3 separate regions of the Homo sapiens genome follow, and regions 1 and 3 are each linked to region 2. Evidence: promoter capture Hi-C in human tissues and cell types (Jung and others, 2019). All regions are on one chromosome and are shown on one strand. The core of a region is centred on a gene start or on the middle of the fragment in contact, and the rest is flanking DNA. Distances in the headings are between cores, read along the strand shown. Region 1 overlaps CASZ1 (castor zinc finger 1). Region 2 holds the start of CASZ1 (castor zinc finger 1). Region 3 has its middle 45 kb from the start of CASZ1.

Evidence for each region. Contacts are between HindIII fragments. The study calls those that stand out against the background at their distance.
Region 1: a contact is called between a fragment that was not itself captured here and the fragment with the promoter of CASZ1 in region 2, in 9 of the 25 tissues and cell types used here (H1 embryonic stem cells, IMR-90 fibroblasts, dorsolateral prefrontal cortex and 6 more).
Region 3: a fragment that was not itself captured here is called in contact with the fragment with the promoter of CASZ1 in region 2 in 2 of the 25 tissues and cell types used here (liver and neural progenitor cells).

The regions. Positions count from the first base shown.
Region 1 is chr1:10,752,081-10,754,780 of GRCh38, forward strand. All of the region lies in intron 2 of CASZ1 (castor zinc finger 1), which reads right to left. Among named protein-coding and RNA genes, the nearest start is that of CASZ1, 43 kb to the right of the region's middle. RefSeq lists a silencer at 2,626-2,700. The HindIII fragment of the contact is 6,133 bases long and covers 1-2,700 here.
Region 2 is chr1:10,795,344-10,798,110 of GRCh38, forward strand. CASZ1 (castor zinc finger 1) reads right to left here and starts at 1,303. Exons shown (of 21, transcript NM_001079843.3): 1 at 1,221-1,303. The HindIII fragment of the contact is 29,932 bases long and covers 1-2,767 here.
Region 3 is chr1:10,840,317-10,843,241 of GRCh38, forward strand. No RefSeq gene overlaps it. Among named protein-coding and RNA genes, the nearest start is that of CASZ1, 45 kb to the left of the region's middle. RefSeq lists an enhancer at 1-120. The HindIII fragment of the contact is 8,199 bases long and covers 1-2,925 here.

The DNA.
Region 1 (2,700 bases), core at 1-2,500, 43 kb before region 2:
CCCTCCCCAAGGAGCTAGCACGGGCTGCCCAGTTGGGGTGGGCATGGAGAGGGCAGCAGACGGGGATTCTTGCTCAGTGCCCAAAGGTCCTGGAACACAGAGGTGGCCCTGCATAGCAGGCTGTCGTCCCTGACCTTGTGCCTGGCCTGGTCCAGCCCCTCCTACACAGTGGGCCATCCCTGCCCACCTCTCCCTGGGCTCAGAACAGATGCCCTTAGCGGATGGTCATCTTTCCAAATTACCCCAGAAACTTCAGGTGGCCTCCTCTGGAGAGGCCCCTAGACTATTCCTAGATAGCAGCCTCACCAGGGAAGGCGGTCCTGGGGAATTGCTCCCCAGCCTGGTGGCCACAGATGTCCCTGTGGGGACTTAGACTCGATTCACCCAAGGGCCACCTGGGCCCAAATACAGGTTGGGAGACTCCAGCAAGTGGCCGGCGTTTGCCTCCATCCTCCTCTCCCTGTACTGTGGGAGTGGAGGTCATCGTGACCCCAGCCCTGCCTTGCTTGCAAAGTCCCCAGGCAGCTCCCCAGGGAGTGCTGGCTCTTCCAGAAGGAGGTCCCAGCTGCCCTGGAGAGGGAGCCCCCCTAGTTGCCAGCCCTCCCTGCTTAGGGCTGCCAGAGAAAATACAGTATGCCCAGTGAAATGTGAATTTCTAATAAACAATGAATACGGCCAGGTGCCGTGGCTCACGCCTGTAATTCCAGCACTTTGGGAGGCCAAGGTGGGTGGATCACCTGAGGTCAGGAGTTCGAGACCAGCCTGGCCAACATGGTGAAACCCCGACTCTACCAAAAATACAAAAAATTAGCTGGGTGTGGTGGCGGGTACCTGTAATCCCAGCTACTGGGGAGGCTGAGGAAAGAGACTCACTTGAACCTGAGAGGCGGAGGTTGCAGCAAGCCGAGATTGTGCCATTGCACTCCAGCCTGGGCAGCAAGACCAAAACTCCATCTCAAAAAACAAAACAAAACAAAACAAAAAACAATGAATACTATTTTCATATAAGTATGTCCCAAACATTGCATGGAATATACTTATACTAAAAAGTCCGTGCTATTTGTGTGAAATTTAAATGTACTAGGTATCCTGTATTTTTATTTGCTAACTCTGGCAGCCCCGTCCTGATGACTCAGCAGGTAGCCCCCGGCAGGGGGGTACAGTTCCTACGGGGTGAGCAGGACAGAAGAGGCAGTGAGGGGGAGTGGAGGTCCCTGTCCGTCTCAGGACAGCAGATTCTTTTCAAGAGGCTCTTCTCATCACTTTCTGCCCTGCCCAGCCTCCTCCCTCACCCGTCACTGCTGCACTGTCCAATACCACAGCTCACCTGCGGGGGTCCCCTCTCACTGCACCCCGCAAAGTCACCTCCATGTCCCCAAGGAGCACAGGGCTCATTTGCTGGGGCTTGGTGGAGCTCAGCTCAACGGCTAATCCCCTGGGTGGCTCCTGTCAGATTATTAATTAGCTAAAGCGGATCGGTCCTGGAACAACATGCGCTTGGACTTCAGATAAAGCAGGCCAGGGAGGCGGGTGGGGGTCTGCTTAAAGTGACAAGACCCTGTTTCTGAGCGGCTCCCCAGAAGGACCGGGGAAAGGAGGCCCAGGCTAGAGCAGGGCAAGTTCCAGACAGACCCCTCTGTGCCCTCTCTGCCCGCTCCCAGATGAAACATCGAGAGAGTGCATTCAAGAAGGGCGATCCGGGCACATATGCGACCTGTGAGAGGCGGAGTCGGTGACAGGTGGGTCTTGTTTTTTAATAAAGAGCTTGTTCCTAATCAGATCATGGCACTCAGAACTCTTCAAAAAGCTTCTTATTTCACTCTGGGTAAAAGCCAGAGTTCTCACAATGGCCTGCAAGGCCTACGGGATCTGAGGGCCCCCCACCCTGACCCCCTCGACTTCAGATGGCATCTGCCCCTCACTCTGCTCTAGCCACGCTGGTCTCCTTGCTTCTCCAACACGCCTCTGGGATCTCACACCTGCTATGAATGCTCTTCCTACAGATATCGATTAGGTTGGCTCACTCCCTCACTTCCTTTCTGTCTTCACCCAAATGTCACCATCGCAGTGACCCCTTCCCTGGGAGCCACATCTAAAATGACAAACCATCCATCCACCTGCCTCTCACTCCCTATTCTAGTCTGCAAAGAGGCTCTTGTTTTCTCCTTCCCACGCATCGCCATCCAGCACATCCTTTATTCCTTTTTCTCCTGTATCATTTGGCTCCCTCCATCCGAATGTAAACCTCATGAGGGCAGGACGTTGGCCTCTTCTTCATTTCGAGCACCTACAATGACTACCCACAGTGTCGCTGAATGGAAATGGAAAATGAATAGCCAGAGGTGACAGGTCAGGACTTGGACCACCACCTCTTCCGGCTCTGAACCCCTGAGGCTGAGCCCTGGCCCAACCCAGTGGGCTCCTCAAGCATCCAGTTCCTCTCCCCTGACCCTACTGGACCCCAGGCTTCCTCAGTCCTGCCCCCTAAACCAGGTGCTCCTCACACCCTCGTCCTAAGCATTTTCACTAGGATGCATTTCCAGGGTCTTTGGAGGGGTGCCCGAGGGGACCCATCTCTGTGTCACCAGACCTCCTCCCCGCAGCTGGGACCGATCCTCTCTCTGCCTGGAGAGCAGCACGGCGTGGGACTCACAGCTGCTGCCCGGGCCCAGCTCAGCTGCTGGCAAACTCCTGGGCTCG
Region 2 (2,767 bases), core at 53-2,552:
TTTTTTCTCTGTCCTTCACCAGGTGCCTATTTCAGCCCTGTGCCCTTGGATTCAGGGCTCCTCCTCCCCAATTGTTGAGCTCCGAGGTCACCCTCAGCCCACCCTGGGGGAACAGACCCCGACCGACCCTCTCCCACGCTGCAGAGCCCCCCCGGAGCGCACCACTCTACCAGCCCGCTAGCCCGCCAGCCCAGCGTCCCACGTCCCCGGGCGCAACTTCTCTTCTGGCGCACACAACAGCCGGCAACAACTCGCCCGAACTTTCCCCGGGACCCAGGCGGGCTCCAGCCGACAGCCGGGCAGCTCTGGGCCGATGCCCCGGCTCCCCGTGCCCTGTGTTGCCAGCCCTTCAGCTGGGGAGGCAGGGGGTGGGGTGGGGAAGGGAGTGAGGAACGCCACTTGCCGCGCCTGGAGCAGCGCACTTGAGATAAACTTCCCAGGCACAGATGAAAAAGGGGGCGCCGCTCCCCCCATCTAAGAAATCTCTTGCCTTCGATTTCCTATGGGGGATACCCTTTGGCACCCCGCGCCTAAGCGAACACTGCCTACCTCTGCTGGCAGCACCTACACCCGGTATCCGGGCACAAGAGCCGGCTGGAGGGGTTCCCCACCCACCCCTTCCCATGGGCAAAGTCTTGCAAAGTCACCCCAGGCACCCCTCACCCCGCCTCCTTCTCTGCCCTGGAGAGCGCACGACCCCTCTGCTGCTGGGGGGTGGGGTGGGGTGGGGGTTTAAGGGGAAGGAGTGATTACCCGGTATTGGAGATCACCTGCCCCCCCGGGAGCCCACAGCGCGTGGGGCGCCCCCACCCTATTTGCAAAGTCCTGTGCTCGCGCCTGGCACCTCCCTCTCTTCTCCCCTACCCCGCCACCCCCTCAGTTGGAGTAAGCGACCCCCAGGAGGAGCAGCCCTCCCCTCCCCCGGAGCCGCGCGCCGGGCATTCCCCTGGCCACGGCAGGCAACGCGCCGCCCCGCGCCCGGGTGCCAGCCCTCCGTGCCCCCTGCCTCCGCACGGCCGGAGTTGGGTGGCAGCCGCCGATCGCAGGCTGGCTGGCTGGCTCGCTCGCTCGCTCGCTCGCCCGCTCCCTGCTGCAAGCGGCAGCCCCGGGGGTGGGGGGGGTGCACCGGGACAGGGGGAGAGACGGGGAGGCGCCCCGGGAGGCCCGCGGAGCTGGGGGACGTGGGGGGGCCGCGGCGGAGGGAGCGCCGAGTCTCTTACCTGCACTTGGGGCGGCTTTGGGTGACTTTCCAAGTCCGGGGGAAAAATGTGTGTGTGTTTGGGATGGAGCGCCGCGGGCGCGCATGCGCTGCCCAAAGTTGCCGGATCCCGGATTTTTCGCTCCCAGTCTCCGCTCTCGCCCGCTGTGATTATGGAATTCTCCGCGGCCGGGCGGGCGAGTGGGTGGCATGCAAAACCCGGGCCGGATCGCGGGGCCGGGCTCCGCTCCACCCTCACACCCCCAGACCTGCCCCTCCCGGATCCTTCCCACCCACCGCCCGGGCTGAGCTCAGCGTGTGCGCGCGGCGAGTCGCACGGCCTGCGGAGGAGCATCTGAGCGCTCGGCCCCCTTTTGCAGGTCCAGAGGCTTCTACACCCCCCCCCAGCTGAGTTGAGTTGAGGCTAGGGGAAAAGAGAGAAGGGATGGGGGGGGGGGTTACTTTCCACCTGTTCTGAACCCCGAGAGAGCCCGAGTTCGGTTCCCACTTTCGACAGAAGAACTGGCTCTTTTTTGCAAGTTAGAATGTTAGAACTGTGGAACCCAAAGGAACGAAATGTTCTCACTGTTTGATATCTGCTTTGCACTTATTCTTTGCAAGGGAGTTTTTCATTCAATCTATTGTGCAAGAAATAAATCCTTAAGTGAGCAAGATAGGCCGTGCAGAATGAACCTTACATGGAGGGGCTGGGGGGGGGGCAGATAATACACATTAAAACAAGTGGATAATGTTATTTCAGAGAGTGAAAGTATCCATGAAGAAAATAAACCAAGGCAATAGGCTAAAAAGTGTCTTGGGGGCCGGCATGGTGGTTTACGCCTGTAATCCCAGCACTTTGGGAGGCCGAGGCAGGAGCATCGGTTGAGCCCAGGAGTTCGAGACCAGCTTGGGCAACATAGCTAGACCTCATTTCTGACAAAACAAAACAAAGCAGTGTCTTGCGAGAGATAATCCCCTTGCCCCCAGATGGGGGGGAAGGGCCTTTTGAGGGGCACTTTCATACTTTATTGAAGAAACCCCCTTTTCTCCCATACCCAGACTTCCCATTTCCCAGTTGGTTTGAGGTGGCCACACCAGCTGAGCCTAGTAGTCAGCTTCAGTGCTGAGGCCCTGTAGCTCTGGTCTTGCCTTTCTCAGCAAGCGCACCCCTCATTCCAGGCCTGAGCTGCTTTTCCCTTCAGCATAAGCGTGGGATGGAAATATCGAGAGGCATGAAAGAAACTGAAAACACCCAGATGATGAGATAAGTGAGAAACTGACCATAACAGTAAACGAAATAGATCAATGATTTGTGGAATAAATGAATATAAATTCAAAGTATGACCCACAGCTTCAAGCCCTGCTCAACAGAATGCATTAAACTAAGAGGCAATGCCACAGGCTGGTAAACATTGTTGCAGGCTGGTAGTATTTGGAGCCTAATCTGCAAGGTGTCAGGAAAGCCTCTCAGGACCAGAGAAACGACCCAAAACCCTGTATGATGATTGTCTAAGACAAGCATCTTCCGGGATGCATTCCCATGTCCTGCCTTAAACTGGAAGTTAATTG
Region 3 (2,925 bases), core at 195-2,694, 45 kb after region 2:
TGTACGTCTGTGTGCACAGGTGTGCATCTGTGTGCTGTGTGTGCGCTCACTCATGTGTCAGGGAAAATCGAAGTTTTCAGTGTGAAAGGCCTCTATGGCCCCTTTCCATTTGCCTTTTTGCTAAATTACGTAACCTCCCCCTAGAGTGAACAGCATGGCTTGACAACAATAGGGCTTTTGAAATGTCCTCTCTTCAGAAACACATTACACACATGTATGTGGAGACGTGAACATCTGTGTGACTGTATTATTGAGTGTATGCATATCTGTGTGTGCACATGTTATAAATGCACATGTAGGCCGGGCATGGTGGCTCACACCTGTAATCCCAGCACTTTGGGAGGCCGAGGTGGGCGAATCGCAAGGTCAGGAGATTGAAACCATCCTGGCTAACATGGTGAAATCCCATCTCTACTAAAAATACAAAAAAAAATTAGCCAGGCCTGGTGGTGGGCACCTGTAGCCCCAGCTACTTGGGAGGCTGAGGCAGGAGAATGGCATGAACCCAGGAGGTGGAGCTTGCAGTGAGCCGAGATCACGCCACTGCACTCCAGCCTGGGCGACAGAGCGAGACTCTGTCTCAAAAAATAAATAAATAAATAAAATAAATGCACATGTACATGTACCTTCCACGCACATTGACTGTAAACATGCTCATGTTAACAACCAAGGCTATTGCATACACAGGGGCACATGTGTGTTCCCATGTATCGTTTGCCCATGGGACTCCTGTGGGACTCCTGTGCAAGCTGTGTGCAGGCATGCATGGGAGATCTCCCCGATACAGTAGAGAGGTCACTACTAGAGTAGAGTGGGTGTCCAGAGGGTCCCGTGGGTACATGTGTGCCCCGGGCTGTATCTGCACACGTGTGTGAGTGCAGGGGGTGTGCGTGACTGTGCGCAGTAGGTGTGTGTACAGTACAGCATGTGTTTGCATATCGGGAGTTGGGGATGTTTAGTAATTAAATCCCTTTTCATCCTTCTGCACCTGTCTCCTGAAAGCTGAGAGAACAGACGTCAAACGGGACAAGGGCTGGATTGAATACAGCCAATTCTGAAATATTTATTAGCTTGCGACTCCGCTCAATGGAGGAGAAGGAATGCCAGCTAATCCACCCAGCAGTGCTCACAGCAGGGACGTTTTTCAACAGGGACTTCTTATATTTCAGCGACTGCCCACTCTGTCCAAAAATGAGAGCGTTTTCATCTGGGTCCATGCAGCATTCTCCAGAACTCTGGTTAGGCATTCACAGGGCAGAAATCAAACCTGAGCTCTTGTTTCTGGGTTCCTGGGGCCATGAAGTTCTCTTCCTCAGACAAAGACGGGTGAACCAGTAGGACCTGGGGTGGAGTGTACCGGTCACCGTTTATAGGACGCTTCCTGTGTTTCAGGCACCGTGTGTGGGCCTTTCCATACATCTTCTTCATCTAAGTCTTCACAAAACCCCAATGAGATAAATGCCGAGTATGACCCCATTTAATACAGTAGGGAGCTAGGAAACGCAGAAACATTCAACAAATGAGAAACAGAGGCCCCCAGTAATGACGCCACTTGCCTGAAGACATAAGCTACTTAGTGGTGGGGCCAGGATGTGAGTCCAGGGAATCAGCACTCCCAAGCTCAAACTCTCACCTTGCTGCCTCCTAATGGAACTATGATGGACCTACTATATGCACTGTGTGGAGAATTCTCGGGGTGCATCTAAGATCATTGAGAAAGAGTGGGGTGGCCCACTGTGGCAGGAGGAGACGGCTGTGTATTTGATGCCCCTCAGCCCTGCCCCACCCCACCCTACACCTGCTCATCACCAAGCCTGCCCTTTTTCTTTTTTTTTGAGATGGAGTCTCGCTCTGTTGCCCAGGCTGGAGTGCAGTGGTGCAATCTTGGCTCACTGCAATCTCCGCCTCCCGGGTTCAAGCGCTTCTCCTGCCTCAGCCTCCCAAGTAGCTGGGATTACAGGCACCTGCCACCACACCCAGGTAATTTTTGTATTTTTAGTAGAAATGGGGTTTTGCCATGTTGGCCAGGCTGGTTTGAACTCCTGACCTCAAGTGATCTGCCCTCCTTGGCCTCCCAAACTGCTGGGATTACAGGCGTGAGCCACAGTGCCTGGCCAAGCCTGCCCTTCTTATAAGTGCAGCTCAATTCCTCTAACTGCTCAGGTCAAAACCTTTAGACTCTCCTTTTACTTCCCTTTCTCTCTACCCTACATCCAAATGTAGGCAAATCCTGGTGTCGCTCCTTTCAGAAGGTACCCAGGATGCAACCACTGCTCATCCTCCCCACTGATGCGGCCCCGTCTGAGTCTCCATCATTTCTCCTTTGAGTGATTGCAGGGGCCTCCTTATGTCTCCCTACTTCCAATCTTACCCCCTACAGTCCAGAGTGGACCCTCTAGAACCTAACTCAGATGATCCTGCTTCTCTTCTCAGGGCCCTCCAATAACTTCTGTGTCACTCATTGTAGAAGTCAAAGTCCTTGCATTGACCACAAAGCCCAACCTCACTGACCTCGTCTCTACCCTCCTCCCAGCTCACCCCCGTGACCCTGGCTGGCCTCTGCTCCTCCTTGAACACAGCAGGCATGGTCTCTTTTCAGGGCAGAAATCAAAGCTGAGCACTTGTTTCTGGGCTCCTGGGGCCCAGTTCCGCAGGCAGAGACTGGCGAGCCAGTGGCTCATCATGGTGGCTCATACCGGTCACTGCTTATGGGGCCCTAGGAGCCCCAGGCTGCTCCCTCTGCCTGGAATCCCTTGTCCAGGTCCCCATGCAGCTGGTTCCCTCGCCTCCCTCAAGGTCTGCTCAAATGCCACATTCTTGGAACCACCTTGTGGAAACAGTGAAAGCCCTTCCTCTGGAGCCCACCATTCTACCATCCCTGTTCCCTTTACCCTTTGTATTTATTTATTTATTTATTTATTTATT